Linked DNA regions of Homo sapiens: all the other regions are linked to region 2. Evidence: promoter capture Hi-C in 16 types of primary human blood cells and fetal thymus (Javierre and others, 2016). All regions are on one chromosome and are shown on one strand. Each heading gives the region's core, a stretch centred on a gene start or on the middle of the fragment in contact. The rest is flanking DNA. Distances are from core to core; before and after follow the strand shown. Region 1 overlaps TMEM45B (transmembrane protein 45B). Region 2 holds the start of SNX19 (sorting nexin 19). Region 3 holds the start of NFRKB (nuclear factor related to kappaB binding protein). Region 4 overlaps NFRKB (nuclear factor related to kappaB binding protein). Region 5 overlaps LOC399975 (a long non-coding RNA gene).

What was found. The method cuts DNA at HindIII sites, captures the fragments that hold promoters and counts their contacts. A CHiCAGO score of 5 or more calls a contact.
Region 1: a fragment that was not itself captured here is called in contact with the fragment with the promoter of SNX19 in region 2 in 1 of 17 cell types (neutrophils); the score reaches 6.4 in neutrophils.
Region 3: the fragment with the promoter of NFRKB here is called in contact with the fragment with the promoter of SNX19 in region 2 in 2 of 17 cell types (total B cells and naive B cells); the score reaches 6.7 in total B cells.
Region 4: a fragment that was not itself captured here is called in contact with the fragment with the promoter of SNX19 in region 2 in 2 of 17 cell types (total B cells and fetal thymus); the score reaches 8.7 in total B cells.
Region 5: a contact is called between a fragment that was not itself captured here and the fragment with the promoter of SNX19 in region 2, in 1 of 17 cell types (total B cells). The highest score is 5.2, in total B cells.

What each region holds. Positions count from the first base shown.
Region 1 is chr11:129,859,533-129,862,581 of GRCh38, forward strand. It overlaps TMEM45B (transmembrane protein 45B), which reads left to right. Exons shown (of 6, transcript NM_138788.5): 6 at 1-471. Among named protein-coding and RNA genes, the nearest start is that of NFRKB, 35 kb to the right of the region's middle. RefSeq lists enhancers at 2,196-2,755, 2,302-2,596. The HindIII fragment of the contact is 3,252 bases long and covers 1-2,917 here.
Region 2 is chr11:130,914,953-130,918,013 of GRCh38, forward strand. It overlaps SNX19 (sorting nexin 19), which reads right to left and starts at 1,527. Exons shown (of 11, transcript NM_014758.3): 1 at 1-1,527. The coding sequence starts at 987. RefSeq lists an enhancer at 1,270-1,319 and a silencer at 1,440-1,719. The HindIII fragment of the contact is 12,734 bases long and covers 1-3,061 here.
Region 3 is chr11:129,894,328-129,897,476 of GRCh38, forward strand. NFRKB (nuclear factor related to kappaB binding protein) reads right to left here and starts at 1,251. Exons shown (of 27, transcript NM_001143835.2): 1 at 1,169-1,251; 2 at 32-111. RefSeq lists a silencer at 968-1,407. The HindIII fragment of the contact is 7,376 bases long and covers 1-3,149 here.
Region 4 is chr11:129,875,613-129,878,594 of GRCh38, forward strand. NFRKB (nuclear factor related to kappaB binding protein) reads right to left here. Exons shown (of 27, transcript NM_001143835.2): 14 at 2,852-2,931; 15 at 2,697-2,743; 16 at 1,713-1,773; 17 at 1,109-1,283. Among named protein-coding and RNA genes, the nearest start is that of NFRKB, 18 kb to the right of the region's middle. The HindIII fragment of the contact is 4,077 bases long and covers 1-2,982 here.
Region 5 is chr11:129,269,589-129,272,530 of GRCh38, forward strand. All of the region lies in intron 1 of LOC399975 (a long non-coding RNA gene), which reads right to left. It also overlaps a transcript of ARHGAP32 not described here. Among named protein-coding and RNA genes, the nearest start is that of ARHGAP32, 79 kb to the left of the region's middle. The HindIII fragment of the contact is 6,455 bases long and covers 1-2,942 here.

The DNA.
Region 1 (3,049 bases), core at 42-2,541, 1.1 Mb before region 2:
TTTTTTAAAAAAACTTCCTTCACCGCGCCTATAATCCTAGCACTTTGGGAGGCCGAGGCAGGCAGATCACGGGGTCAGGAGATCAAGACCATCCTGGCTAACATGGTGAAACCCCGTCTCTACTGAAAATACAAAAAATTAGCCGGGTGTGGTGGCGGGCGCCTGTAGTTCCAGCTACTCGGGAGGCTGAGGCAAGAGAATGGCATGAACCCGGTAGGGGAGCTTGCAGTGAGCCCAGATCATGCCACTGTACTCCAGCCTAGGTGACAGAGCAAGACTCTGTCTCAAAAACAAGCAAACAGACTTCCTTCAACAAATATTTATTAAATATCCACTTTGCAACAGCACTGAAATGGCTGTAAGGACTCCTGAGATATGTGTCCAGCAAGGAGTTTACAGTCAAACAGGAGAGACATGCCTGTAGTTACATCCAGTGTGATGGGTGCTGAGAGGCAAGTACAAACCACGATGAGAAAAAGGAGAGGAGGGGAAATGCAGAGCTTGCCCTGTAGAAAAAGCACATCCCAGGTAGAGAGGGTAGCACATTAAAAAATGAAAGCATAAAAAAATACGGAGAACTTAAAAAGATTAAGTTCTACAAACTGATAAAAGTGAGTTAGGACCAAGTTGATGGGCCTTAGAGACCAAATAATACTTTCCGTGTGCATAGTATTTTTCAGATTCTGAGATGCACCCTATCTCATTTGATTCTCACAACCGCTTGTAATGTGTAAGAGCATGAGGTCTTTCAGAAAAGCTGGCTGGCCTAGCAGGGCGCGGTGGCTCACGCCTGTAATCCCAGCACTTTTGGAGGCCGAGGCGGGTGGATCATGAGGTCAAGAGATCGAGACCATCCTGGCCAACATGGTGAAACCCTGTCTCTACTAAAAATATAAAAATTAGCTTGGTGTGGTGGTGAGCACCTGTAGTCCCAGCTACTTGGGAGGCTGAGGCAGGAGAATCACTTGAACCCAGTAGGCGGAGGTTGCACAGTGAGCCGAGATTATGCCACTGCACTCCAATCTGGCAACAGAGTGAGACTCCATCTCAAAAAAAAAGAAAAGTTGGCTGGCCTAAGACCACACAGATGCTAGGTGGCAAAGCCAGTCTTATGACTCCAAAACCAGGCATCTGTCTCACCATTCTAACCCTGCTACGTCACACAAATCCAGGAGAGAGAATTTACATAAAGCACTGCATGCGCTTTGGAAGAAATGCTGTACTTAATTAAGTGAAGGTAACCTCCCAGAGTTAGCCAGCCTTTCAGAGTTGAAGTCACAGCTTAGGGATTCAAAATGAGCTACTAAAAACACTAATTTAGTTATTAGAGAACTCCGGGTTCCACTTTCAGGATCCACCTTGGTTGGCCAGTGGAAAAACACAAGTATTCTTCATTCAACAAGTACTGAAGGACCTATTATTGGCAATGAACGTAACATGTGTTCTTTCCTTGGGGACTGCAGGTGGGCAGAAGGACCTGTTCAGTTTTACTTTCAAAGAAAAGATCCACATTTGAGGTTTCTTTAAGTGTACCATATTTTAAGAAAGAAAATGTACTATTTTCTCCAGAGTGAGGGGCTAAGGTGTGAAGAACAGATATAAAATATTAAAATGTATTCAGATGCCCTTCACACAGCAAGGCTTGTGATGCCTTCATGGAAGTGATCAACCCTATCATAAACATTGTTAGATGTGGTATTAAAGTATAAACTGATGACAGTACTATTCTCCACATCCTGTCTTAGATATGTTTTCTGAATAATTTTACCCATATCTGTCAACCAGAGGCTCAATGGTTGCCACCAGAAGTCCTTTTGAAATTGTTCCCTACAAAACACCCACCATGGCTGGGTGCAGTGGCTCACGCCTGTAATCCCAGCACTTTGGGAGGCTGAGGCAGACAGATCACCTGAGGTGACAAGTTGGAGACCAGCCTAGCCAAAATGGTGAAACCCCATTTCTACCAAAAATACAAAAATTAGCAGGGCGTGGTGGCACGTGCCTGTGATTGATCCCAACTACTCAGGAGGCTGAGGCAGGAGAATCACTTGAACCCAGGAGGCGGAGGTTGCAGTGAGCTGAGATCTTGCCGCTGCACTCCAGCCTGGGCTACAGAGTGAGACTCCATCTCAAAAACAAAAACAAAAACAAAACACTCACCATAGCTGTGCCATTCATCTATCAGAAACCTGAAGCCAGCATATGAAGGAAGCAAGTGTGGCACAAATCCTGGGCTGTCACCGTAAACAGCTCCAGTAGGAAGTTCCCATTCTCCGCTATTGCCATTCCACCCACAGGCTGGATAGTGCCGAAGTTACACTTCTGAGGAGTCAGCATCCTGACGCAGCCTAAACTTTACACTCACTCCCTGCTCTCCAGAATGCACACGTCTGCCTGTGCAAAAACGACAAGCAGAGTCAGGTGACCTCAGCTAACAGGAATGTGGGCAGGGCTGCGGCTGAATGCCAGAGCTACTTTTATTAAATTCCTTGTTAAGTAAATTCAAAAGGGGTTTGTTTGTAGCTGGCAGTAAATACCTAAGACAAGATCTCTGGAATTTCTACCTTTTTTTTTTTTTAATTTAAAAACTGTCACATGGCTTTCTATGTGAAATGTGATTCTTGAAAATAACAGATACGCAAATATCAAAGGATTATCAAACGCAGACACACTCGCCTTTCTCAGGTGGAAAGGCCCATTTCCCCGCACTGCATCCTACCTCTCCCCACTGCCAACCTCATCCCGTGCCAGTCTACTTGCCCATCACAAGCTCAACCTGGGAGGCCCATTCACCTCTGCTCTCTGCAATGCAGGCCTCCCACCTCCTAAGACTGGATCGCCCCCAGGCTCGCCAGGATACATCACAGCCCTCCTGCCCGGAGGAAGGCAACAGAGAGAGACTTGACTTAGAATCAGAAGCTTCTCTTTAACTTCAACTCAGACTCATGTCTTCCAACGGTTAAAGGGGAATGATGACACTGATTTTACAAAATTGCTCTAAGAATTAAACAAAATGTCTGTGAAACAGCTGTGGAGCCAACCAGCCTCC
Region 2 (3,061 bases), core at 277-2,776:
AACCTCTGGAGAGGGGCCTGCAGAACCCTCTGGCTCACTGTAACTTAGGAATACTGGGGCTGCTACTGGAGAAGCTCTCCCTTCTGGAAGCTGCTCTACCTCAGCAATCAGTGGCAGAGATGTCGGCACTGAGGGCTGTTCGGGGGCACTGGCTGGGCAGGGTGCTGGATCTCTGGCCTTGGAAAAGATACCCACGAGTACAAGGTGGATCCAGTCAGGATCTGACAGCCTGCTGATCAGTGGTAAGATTACATTGCATGTGATGAGTTCGACCACTACATGGCGTCCGGTACGAGTCTCCAAGTGGGGCTTGGGCACCAGCCCTTGAAGCAACAAATTCACAACGCCACGCGTATAGGTGACTTCAGCACTGGGGCTGTGCACAGCAGGATGTGGGGCAGTCGCCCGGCAGTAAGCCTCCCAGAGGTGGGAAGGCTCAACTGGACCATTCTTCCCTGCAGTGGCCTCCTTTGCCTGAATGTAGCTCTGCAGGTGACAACCGCAGAGAGTCAGAACACTCTGGGCAACAGCATGACTGTCCATCACGCTCATCCTTCTCCGAAGCTCCTGGACCAACCCTTTCATGGCTGCCTCCATTTCTTCCTCAAAGGCTGGCTCCTGGCTCACGGAACGGTACCAAGATAACACAAAATCTCGAATAATCATCTGGATGGTGCGGTTGATCTCCCGTTCCAGCTGCCTTTCTGCCTCAGGGCATGGAGGACAGGTGGCCAACGGGATGAAGCGTTCCAGATGCAGTCGACCTGAAGCCACTCCAGCGAGGCTGGAGCCCAGCCATCCTCCCAGCACCACTAGCAATGCCGACAGAAGGCACAGCAGCCACACGTTGACCAGAAGGTGTATGACCAGGAGCCAGCCAAGCAAGACCCCCACAGCCATCAGCTTCCGGCTACTCAACAGGTTATTGAGGTGACAGCTCGATCCAGCTGGAGTTTCCTGGAACGGTGGCACTGTTTCTGTCTTCATGGCTGAACGGACAAGGTGGCTTCCCCAGATGACAGCCCTCAAGATTTTACTTCAGAGTTAGGGAAGGGGGGCATGAACTGTGTCTCAGATATGGGGCGATCTGGGTGCTGTTCAGGGAACCGGGGCTCCAGGCCCTCAAAGTCCTACAGGCACTGCAAAGCGACAGCTGCAGCTCCGCGTCTCCCCATGGCTACCACTAACAGAGCCCTCCAACTCGCCCCTTCCAGCTGAGGTGTGGCTTTGGAGGAAAACTCTGTGGCCTTCACACTGCCCCAGGCGGAAGGCCTCTTCGGGGCCTCGGGGCGGGCGCTGCAAGGCCCTGGGGCCCACGGACACTTACACACGCAGCGGGCAGCGGCCGGCGAAGACTGGGTCACACGCCGCCGGGAACCGCGCGCCCACACTCAGCCCCGACCTGAAGTGGACTCATCGCGGTCCTCTCCGGGAGCCTCGGCCCTCTGCCGCCGTAAACCTGGGCGACTGCGCTCCGCAGCCGGGCCTGTGTGAAGGCTGACCGCCGGCCGGCCGCCGGCGACAGCTTCCGGGTCGACGTCGACGGGAGCGAGGCATGCTGGGAGAGCGTCCGCGCGCGCCCCGAGGAGCGGCGCTGCCCGGCGCCCTCTGCTGGCGAGGAGCCGCCCTGACGGCCCTGCGCGAGGTAGTCTCTGAGCCTGAGCGTGAGCCTGAGCGCGCACGGGGCGCGTGCTCGCCAAGAGCTGGCGCAGATTTCCGAAGTGCCACGAAACAGCCGCCGCAGCAATCACCGCTAAGACCCAGACTTCCAGGCGCTTTAAAACGCGTCCTAGTTCTGGTTATTAAATGAAGCCTGTCCTTTACTGCTTAGGCACGCTGTCAATAATCCGGTTTATTTTAATTTCATGGAGGCGAAGTTTCATTGGCCTGATGTGTCTTAACATTTATCCGGTTTCCCCTAGAGCCGGTACCCCGCGTCCCCAGCACAAAGACCCTCATTTGTTGTCAGGAATTGCAGAATATAAGGCATGAAACGATACAGAGATAGATTTATGTTGTACATTTCATATACTGTATCACAAAATCAAATTTGTGATTGAGGGTTATTTGCTGGTGGCATTACACAAACAATCAAATATTTTGAGCATCTGCTGTCTTCAATGTGAGAGGCAGCGTGGACGAATAGAAGCAGACCTTGTCCTCCAGGACCTCCTGCTAACTGGGGATGCCAGCGCTTTGAACGCGATTGGCTATCTAGTAATGCCAGTCAGCGTGCGATATAGTAAAATACAAAATCTTATAGGAATTCAGGGGAAGGAGAGATCACTGTGGGTTGCAATGGTTAAGGAGAAGCTCACAGAAAAGGTGCCTTTCTGCTGAGTCTTCAAGGATGAGGGTTTCTATTTCCCTCTATCTCTTCTCGCCTTATCCTCCCCAAAAACATAGAAAAGGAAAGCAGAGATAGAGGTGTCCTTTCAGATAATCCTGTAATATATTTGCTTTGGAATATGCTCTATGTTGGATTGTTTTTGGTTTTAGCAAATTAGACTTCACTTGTCTACACAGGAACCTATAGGAAGACAAAATACCGGAAGCACTGACCAGGTGTCAAAAGTGTTAGTGTCAGTTTTGCGTGAAGCCAGCTTCCATGTCCACCTTGGGCCCTAGGAGCTGTGCCCGCAGGGTGGGTCTCCTTTCCATTTAGGCATAGGATTCGCATCGTTTGCACAGAGCTGCTCATGGTTGCCCTTCGTCCACCTTCTCTGTGCTGTGAGCAGTCTTTCATCATCATGGACTACTCCCTAGATGTTTAAAGGAATCTTCAAACAAATCCCAACCCAAAACTCTGCCAACAAGAAGTGCGTTGCAGCTTCCTGTCTCGTCCATTGCTGCTGTTGGGGCAGAGACTTCCTTTGAATACGAAAGAAGCCATCATTTAGATGTGACCCGTAGTTTACGATTCATCACTTCTAAAGCAAATGGTTTGATTTAGGATCAGTGTCCACTAAGCAGACTGGGCACTCCCGTGAGATGGCAGAATGTGAATCCACGGTTTCACGGTCCATACCTTTTCACTGCTGCCTGCCTTCCCGCAGAAAAG
Region 3 (3,149 bases), core at 1-2,500, 1.0 Mb before region 2:
TTCCACAAACACCACATTCCACAAATCTTACCACGCCAGGTGTCAATTTCCTTATTTGAGGAAGGGAAGCTGGACCAGGTCCTCCCTCCCGTTATTTCCAATTCTGGAATCCTGCAATGAATAATCTCTAGATGAGTGACAGTGTGAATTACGTAATACAGGTACTTTTCTTTTCCAAAATTCTCCAATGATAAAGAACAGTTCTAGAATAACTATATGTAAAATGAAGCATGTTCCACTAAATTATTTCAAGCTCCCTTGAAGAGATTTCAGATCCATGTAAAGATATAGCAGAAACTTAAGCGTTGAGTCAAGTCACGTGGGTGGTCCCCAAGCAACTGTGCCCCCTCATCACCCTTCAGCACATGGTGAAATGACATCCTCATCATGCCTATGCCTAAATAAGTGAAGCGGGTGAGACAGCACATAGCATGTGAGTTTAACAAAACTTCAAAATAGCACCAAAAAAAAATTGCAGAAGCAACCTGATGCTCAGAATAAAACCTTCTTAACAGAACTGGCATAGAACAGACTATCAACTGCAAAGTCAGTGTCCTACCTGCCTCTTAGGAGGTCTCTATACAACTTGCTCACAAGTTTCTTCAGTGACGGTGCGTGTCTAGCTAAAGTTAATCTAGTCCACTGACAACCTTTGCACTGCCACTATTCTGAACAGAATCTCAAAATACCAAAACCAGGCAGCTGCCAGGGAGTTGGACCCCGGAAGCCAAGGATTTCCAGATCTTCGGGCGTTCTGAACCTCTTCACTAGACCACGAAGGCCTCTCGGCCTCTCATCACTGGCTTTCAGCACCTGGTCTAACTTTCCCCGCTGGACCCTCCCCAACGCAGAAGCTAAACCCTCGGGTCCTTCCAGAGCAACCGCCGGCTCCAAAGCCCTCAACTCTGCAGCAAATTCCCCTCCGGTGCCAGCCCGGCTGGCCCAAGGCCCGGGTCCAATCCTCAGAACTGCACGGCTCGGCCCCGCCCCTCCCCCACGCCGTGCCTAACCCTAACCCCCAGCCTCACGCGTCGCACCGCTCCCCACGCCCCGCTCCCGCTCCCCACGCCCACACGGGCAGCGACCTCGCGGACCCAGCCGCCCGCTCCCGCTCCCTCCACTCCCAGGAGACACTTCAACCCTTTCGCCGCCCCTTGCCCGCCCTCACCTGAACCGCGGGCGCCGGCCCCCTAACCCGCAGCCCTTCTCCGGCCGCGGGCTCCCAGACGCACTCGCTCCCGCAAGGAGTCTGGGTGCGCGCACGCTCTGGGCCTGCGCGGCGGAAGGGGCGGGGCAGCGCGGGGCGGGGCCTGGAGGGTGCCGGGGCGGGGCCACAGCGGGCGGGTCCTGGAGCGGCTCGGGAGAGCGGAGGGTCGGCGAGGGTGCCTGCGCGCGGCTGGGCCTGGGGATGCAGGTTCCAGCCTGCTTGCGCGTCTCACCTGATTTAGGAGCTTCCAGAGGCCCCAGACAGTGCCTGTCTTTGCCTGACCGCGAATCAAAGTTCCATAGCCCGTGAGCGAAGGCACGTCTATTAGCTGACGTTTGCAGAGAGCATACCCTGCCCCAGGCCCTATGCTAAGCACTTTCTACCCACCGTCTTTGTGCTGCAGCCCTGTGAGCTATGCACTATTAGTGCCCATTTTACAGTTGAGGACATGAGTAGAACGCGACCTCAGCCTGTGCTTCCGAGTTCCTTCATTCCTCCTTCCCGTCCCCGGGCCCTCGATGTCCAGAAAGAATGTAAACACATCGAAGGATCACATTTTAAAGTTAAACTCCATCATTTTCCTCTTCTTAGATATGAAGGCCCCTTTCCTGTTATTCACTGGGTTTTGCTTAGTACGGCTTCACACTACTTATTCCAGGTACTCCCAGCAGTGGCGCAGAGACCATCCTCAGTTCTGTGTGTGGATGGGACCAGAGAAGCCGGCCGGCCGAGCTAATGTTCTTCCCTTCCTGGAAGAGAGTAGTTTCCAAACAACCCGATCTCTGTTCCTCTACTGGCTCCACATATGCTCTAAGTTCCTGTTACACTGTTGAGAGGCTCTTGAATTAGAAACTATCGAGTATAAATGGCAGTGGAATATCACTCTATAGTTGTCACCGATATTTCCCTTACCTTGAGATTGTGACAAGACCAGAAAGAGAAAAAGAGTAAAAACAATGTAAACTATAATTTTTGATAGACTTTGTTTTTTTAAAGTGGTTTAAAGTTAACAAAATTGAGCAGAAAGATATTTTCCAAATACTCCCCGCCCCACCTCCCCACATGCATCGCCTTCCCTTTATCAACATCCTCTACCAGAGTGGTACATTTCTTAGAACTGATGAACCCGGCCCGGCCTGGTGGCTCACGCCTGTAATCCCAACACTTTGGGAGGCCGAGGCGGGCGGATCCCGAGATCAGGAGATCGAGACCATCCTGGCCAACATGGTGAAACCGCGTCTCTACTAAAAATACAAAAATTCGCCGGTCGTGGTGGCGGGCACCTGTAGTCCCAGCTACTCGGGAGCTGAGGCAGGAGAATTGCTTGAACCGGGGAGGCGGAGGTTGCAGTGAGCCGAGATTGAGCCATTGCACTCCAGCCTGTCGACAGAGCGAGACAGAGCGAGACTCCATCTCAAACAAAAGAACTGATGAACCTACATTGATACATCATTACCCACCATCACAGTATAATGCAGAGTAATTTCACTGTCTTAAAAATCATCTGTGCTCTGCATATTCATCTCTCCCTCTCCTCTACCCCTGGCAACCGCTGATCTTTTTGTCTCCATAGTTTTGCCTTTTTCCAGAGTGTCATCTAGTTGGAATTACATAGTATGTAGCCGTTTCAGATTGGCTTCCTTCCCGTAGTAACAGGCATTGAAGTTTCCTCCATGTCTTTTCATGGCTTGATAGCTCCTATTTCTTTTTAGTGCTGAATAATATTCCATTGTGTCGATATATCACAGTTTTATCTATTCGCTTACTGAAAGATATCTTCATTGTTTCCAGGTTTTGGCAATTATGAATCAAGCAATTATGAATCAAACAACCCAGAAATCCAACCACCCACTCCAGGCATCTTTGCATGAACGTATCAAAAACACCTCAGTCCCAATGCCCAGGATCTTCCCCTTTGAGAGGCTGAGATGGGTGGATCACT
Region 4 (2,982 bases), core at 129-2,628, 1.0 Mb before region 2:
GCAGCTGGCAGCTCAGCCACTGGAGTTCCCTATACACTTCTTTTTTTTTTTTTTTTTTTTTTTGAGACAGTTTCGCTCTTGTCACCCAGGTTGAGGTGCAAGGGCGTGATCTCAGCTCACTGCAACCTCCACCTCCCAGGTTCAAGCAATCCTCCTGCCTCAGCCTCCCTAGTAGCTGGGATTACAGCCGTGCACCACCATGTCCAGCTGATTTTTGGATTTTTAGTAGAGACAGGGTTTCATCACGTTGACCAGGCTGGTCTTGAACTCCTGAGCTCAGGTGATCCGCCTGCCTTGGCCTCCCAAAGTGCTGGGATTACATGCATGAGCCATCGCATCCAGCCCTTACACACTTTTAAGAGTCACTTTTAGGTAACACCTTAAGAATTCAGAGGGCCTGTGAACTCAGGTGGGAAGCAAAATTACATCTTAAACTGAAATTAAGTATTTCCTTTAATTATGAACAAAGGGAACAAACCATATACTGCAGTGCTGTGATGGTGTAATAGAAATCAGACATTTTCATATATTACAGCTACTGCAGATAGCTAAGAATATCATTTATACTCATCACTACTTGGAAATTTCAAGAAATGTCAGACCTCCTGCTAGATCTTGTCATATAACATCATAGTAACAACACATATTTCTGCACCATAAACTTGTTTTAACATTTTGATAACTACTTCAAAACAACTGGTCTCTTTTGTAACTGTATTTTATTTCATACATTTAAAAGCATAACTCTGAGAAGGGGTCCACAAGTTCCACCAGACTGCCAAAGGGATTCCTGGCATTCAAAAAGCTAAGAATCCTCACTGTTAAATGAAGCATAGCCTGGAGAAAGCAAATTCCTGTATTTAACCTATTTAGCTGGTCTGGGAGCAACTCCTAAATGAACATAAATGTAAGCCCAGACTTAAGGAAGAAGACTGGGAGCTGAAGATGTCCCCTTCAGCTCCCAAACTGCAATGCTTTGAAAAACTATGCCTTGTTCTCAAAGCCTACCCTGGGTGGAGGGGTAAGGAGAGGACAGAGTTCAGAGTTGGTAAGAGAAAAGCTGCGGGGTGAAGAAAGGGATCTCTGATAATCGACACGTGCCACCTACCAAGAGACAGAATGGTGACGTAGGCAGGCCGGTCGGAGCGCAGCAGGGAGTGCTCCCGAGCCTTGTTGAGCGAGGTCTCCTTGTCAAACACGCCCTTCACTGGCCCCACCACAGACTCAAAGCCGTGCATGCGAAAGGTGAACGCCTTATGGGGTTGGCTATACCTGTAACGCTCCTACCAAGAGACAAGGGACAAGAGTTCTAGGTCAGAATTAGTGGGGTTCTCTCTCGGGCTTCCTTACAATATAAGCAGATCCACATGGAACAATTAAAACAGGAAGGAACAAGTGATTCTATGATTCTAGTAGGAATGTTCAGCCAACCACAGTGGGAAAAGGATGGTTCTCAGAGCCAGTCACTGAGCAGAGGGACAAGGAGGTAATATGAAGGCACTTTGCTACCTGGAAGACAAGATCATCCAAGTATTTCTTACTCCCCTTCCCCACACCGTTTCCACCCCCAACAAGTAATCCCAGCCAACAGAAGGTCTAAGGGGAAAGGTATGAGTTTCTTGCAAGAAGGTAGATGCAGGAGAGTCAGGCTCAGAGCATCTCTCTGCATGGCTCACAGAGGCAGAGACTTACACTGGCTTTTAGGTTCTTACCTGCTCCTGAAAAACCCGTTTCTCCTCCCCCGTGCTGGGACGCACCACATAGTCAGTTCTTCTGGAATATAAAGAATTCTGTATCAACCCTGACAGCTGGCACGTGTGTCAGACCCATTGCCCCTGCTTCAGAACCATTCCCACTGTGACATGGAAAGATGTCCCTCAAGAAGCACTCAATTCTTACAAAGGCGAAGAGCCCACCTTCCAGCTCCTACGAAGTAACTCCTGTTGGTAATTCCAAAATCACTTGATTCTTAGAAACCCAGAAAGGTACTGGGTGGATAGATGGACAAGAGGCTGACATCTTTAACTACTGCTTTCAATATTGCTGTTAAGTAGGTCCGTTCTAAAGGCAACAAACAATTCGGCCTTAGAGGAACAAAGGGCTTCAGGTGTGTTAGATAAGGGTTGTTTTTCTACCTCCAGGGAAAGTACCCGGGGCTTGAGATCTACACCTCTATTACATGAAGCAAAAGTTCTGCCACACTTAGACCGGGCCTCTGTCCTGGTGTCAGAAAACTACCGAACCATGCCAGGGAAGAAAAAGAAACATGGGACAATGTGATATAAAGAGCCTAGGACTAAGAGTCAAGAGATCTAAGTTCTAGCTGGGGTCCTGCTGCTAACCTTCAGCAAGTCACTCAACTTCATGCTTCCATTTACTGGACTAAGATGGCCTAGATGAATAATTCTCAAGTAGGAGCCCAGGGAGGAGTACACATTAAAAAAGTATGTCCACCTACAAAGCAGGTCATATGCCCCTTAGAGGCTCTCCTGCCGTCCCCTCTCTCCACCACAGCCCCTTCCACAAGGAGTCCCGTTCACTCAGGGGGTGCGGCCAAGTCAGGAAGAACCAGGGGACTCCTCAGAGCTCTGAAGCCCATTACAGCTCTAGCATACCAAGAAGTATTAACAAAACCAAGGCAGTATCTGAACTACAGTTTCCCAGGACACCACCCACCACTACAGTATTGTACTCACACCCGAGGGACAGGTGTTGTGGCATCTGAGCTGTCTTCATTTTCTTGCTGGAGAAAAAGAAAACGTTGACAGGTAAATGGACTAAAGAATTTGGGCAAACTTAAGAGCTCTGGAAACCCAGTGAGAAGGATCTGGTATTTCTTAAAAAAACATACCTTACAGAAGGCCTGATCTTTGGTCTCTAGCCATAGCTGGAAGAGGGCAGCTAATTCCTTTTCATTATCTTGGGATTGGCCTATTAGAGGAATAAAGAGATAAAAAAATAAGAAGGTCTAAGGTATTATTG
Region 5 (2,942 bases), core at 188-2,687, 1.6 Mb before region 2:
CAGTGGCACGCACCTATAGTCTTAGCTCCTTGGAAGGCTGACGTAGGAGGATCACCTGAGCCCAGGAGTTCGAGGTTACAACGAGCTATGATCACTCCATCCTGGGTGACAGAGTAAAACCCTGTCTCTAAAAAAAATTAAAAATAAGTCATTTTAAGTAAAAGGAACAGCAAACACAAATCCCTAAGACAGAACGTGCTTTTATTCAAAGGGAAGAAACAATGTCATATACCACACACCCATAAGTATGGCCAAAATTTAAAACACTGACAACACCAAATGTGGACAAGGATGTGGGACAACAGGAACTCTCATTCACTATTGGTGAGGTTGTAAAATGGCACAGCCACTTGGGAAGACAGTGTTGCAGTTTCTTGCAAAACTAAACTTATTCTTAACATATGATCCCGCAATCGCATGCTTAGGTATTTACACAAGATGAAAACTTACTTATTAAAAAAAAAAAACCACACCCAGATGCTTGTAGCAACTTTATCCAGAGCTGCCAAAACTTAGGAGCAACTAGGATGTCCTTCAGCAGGTGAATGAATAAATAAACTGTAGTATATCCAGACAATGGAATATTACTCAGCAATAAAAAAGAAATGAACAATCAAGCCACGAAAAGACAGGGAAGAAACTTAAATGTTTATCCTAAGTGAAAGAAGCTAGTCTGAAGAGGCTACATACTCTATGATTCTAACTATATGACATTCTGGAAAAGGCAAAAGTATGGAAACAGTAAAAAGGCTGGTGGTTGACAGGGGCTGGGGAGAGGGAGGGATGAATAGCCAAATCACAGATGATTTTCAGCAGAGTCAAACTACTCTATAAGATACTATGATGTGGATACATGTCATTATTAATTTGTCCAAATCCATAGAAGGTACAACACCAAGAGTCAGTCTTTTTTTTTTTTCTCCTCTCAGAACAAGTGGGAAAAATGAGTGAATCCTAATGTAACCTATGGACTTCGGGTGATAATGATGTTTCAATGTAGGCTCATCAACTGTAACAAATATGCGACTCTGATGTGGGATGCTGATAATGGGGGAAGCTGCATATGTGTAAAGACAAGGGGTATACAGGAAACTTCTGCACCTTTAGCTCGGTTTTGCTGTGAACGTAAAAATAGTCTACTTAAAAAAAAAAAGGAACATCACTGAGACTGTGGCTCAGTGAACAAAGAAGAAAAGAAGAGAGAGCAGAAGATGAGAGCAGAGAAGCAGCCAGGAGCCATATCACACATTACAAACATTTTGGACCACATAATTTTTTGCTGCTGGGAGTTGTCCTGTGCATTACTGGATGTTGGATGTTTAGCAGCCACTTTGGCCTCTACCCACTAGATGCCAGTGGCAACCTACCCCAATTTGTGACAACCAAGAATGTCTCCAGACATCACCTGAGGGGAAAATCTTCCCTGGTTAAGAACCACTGATATGGAGCCTCATAAGCGACCAAAATGAAGGGTTTATTTCCACGGTAAAATGTTAAGTTTTTGTTTTAGCATTAAGTATATTGGAAAGCCAGTAAGCAGAATGATACGATCTGATTAACGTTTAACATTATTTTGGCTCCCGTGTATGGTAAGAATGAGGGGAAGGACAAGGACAGGAGTAGAAGCAGGGAAGTCTGCTGGCAGTTTGCCAGACGACAAAGCCTACTAGCCTAGCCTAGCCTAGGTTTTTGCCAGTGAAAAAAGTGAGATGTAGTCAGGTTCGGTTTATATTATAAAGGTGGAGGTGACCAGACTTAACATGAGATGAGGAGGAAAAAAAGAAATCAAGGAGGAGGAAGAATCCGGGGTTCTGGCCTGCGCAAGTGGTGGATGATGATGCCACTTACTGAGATGGTAAAGACTTGGGGGAGGTAGAGGAAGAAGTCACCAACAGGAAGAGTAATTCATAGCCCTCCTTTGTTCATGCTGCCTTTGAGGTATCCATTAGACATCCAAGGAGAGGCATGGAGTTACAAGAGTCTAGAGCGCAAGGGGGAAAAAAGTCAGTACTAGAAATAAGAATTTGAGCCTCATCGGCATATAAATGGTATTTGAAACCAAAAATTGGATGAAATCACCTGAGGGACATTCCAAATTTTCAAGGAGTGGGAAAGTAGAGATAAACTGGCAAAAGCATATAGAAAATGAGAATGAACAACTAAGAGGTCAAAACTAGTAAAGTTGGCCACTGTGAAATGCTGGTGAGAGAGGTCAAATAAGATACAAACATTGAACTGACCACTAGCTTTGGCAAGATCCAGGTCACTGCAGTCTTGATTAAAAACAATTTCATTGGAGTGCAATTAAAAAAAGAAATCAAGGATAAGGATGACTCCAGGGGTTCTGGCCTGCACAAGTGGTGGCTGATGATGCCACTTACTGAAATGGTAAAGACTTGGGGGAGAGAGAGGAAGAAGTCACTGGCAGGAAGAGTAATTCATATGATGAGCTCAAATGATCAGGCTAAAGAATCACTGGTGAAGAAGAAGGTACAGCAAATATAAACAACTCTTGAAATTTCTGCTGCAAAAGGAAACAAAAAAAGGACAATAAATGTAAATGAAGGGGATCCCAAGGTAAAGGTGGTTTAAAAGGTGTGATTTATTCATTTAAGGCATCAGTAGCTCAAGAGATAAAACTTTATTCCTCTCTCACCTAACCACCCAAAGATAAATGAGAAGTACAAGGCTAGGAGGCAGTTCTGCTCCACAAGATCATCTAAAAATCCATCTTATTCATCCATCCCCCGCTAAGGTATTGCCCTCACCTTTGCAGGTTGAATAATATGCCCCATCAGTGCATTAACATCCTACACTCTCATCTGCAAAAGGGGATAAAGAGAAAATAGAAAACGATTAGCTTCCTTTCTAAGGCTACAACCCAGAAATCACACATACCACTTATGTCCACATCCATTTAGCCAGAATTTAGTCCACATCCA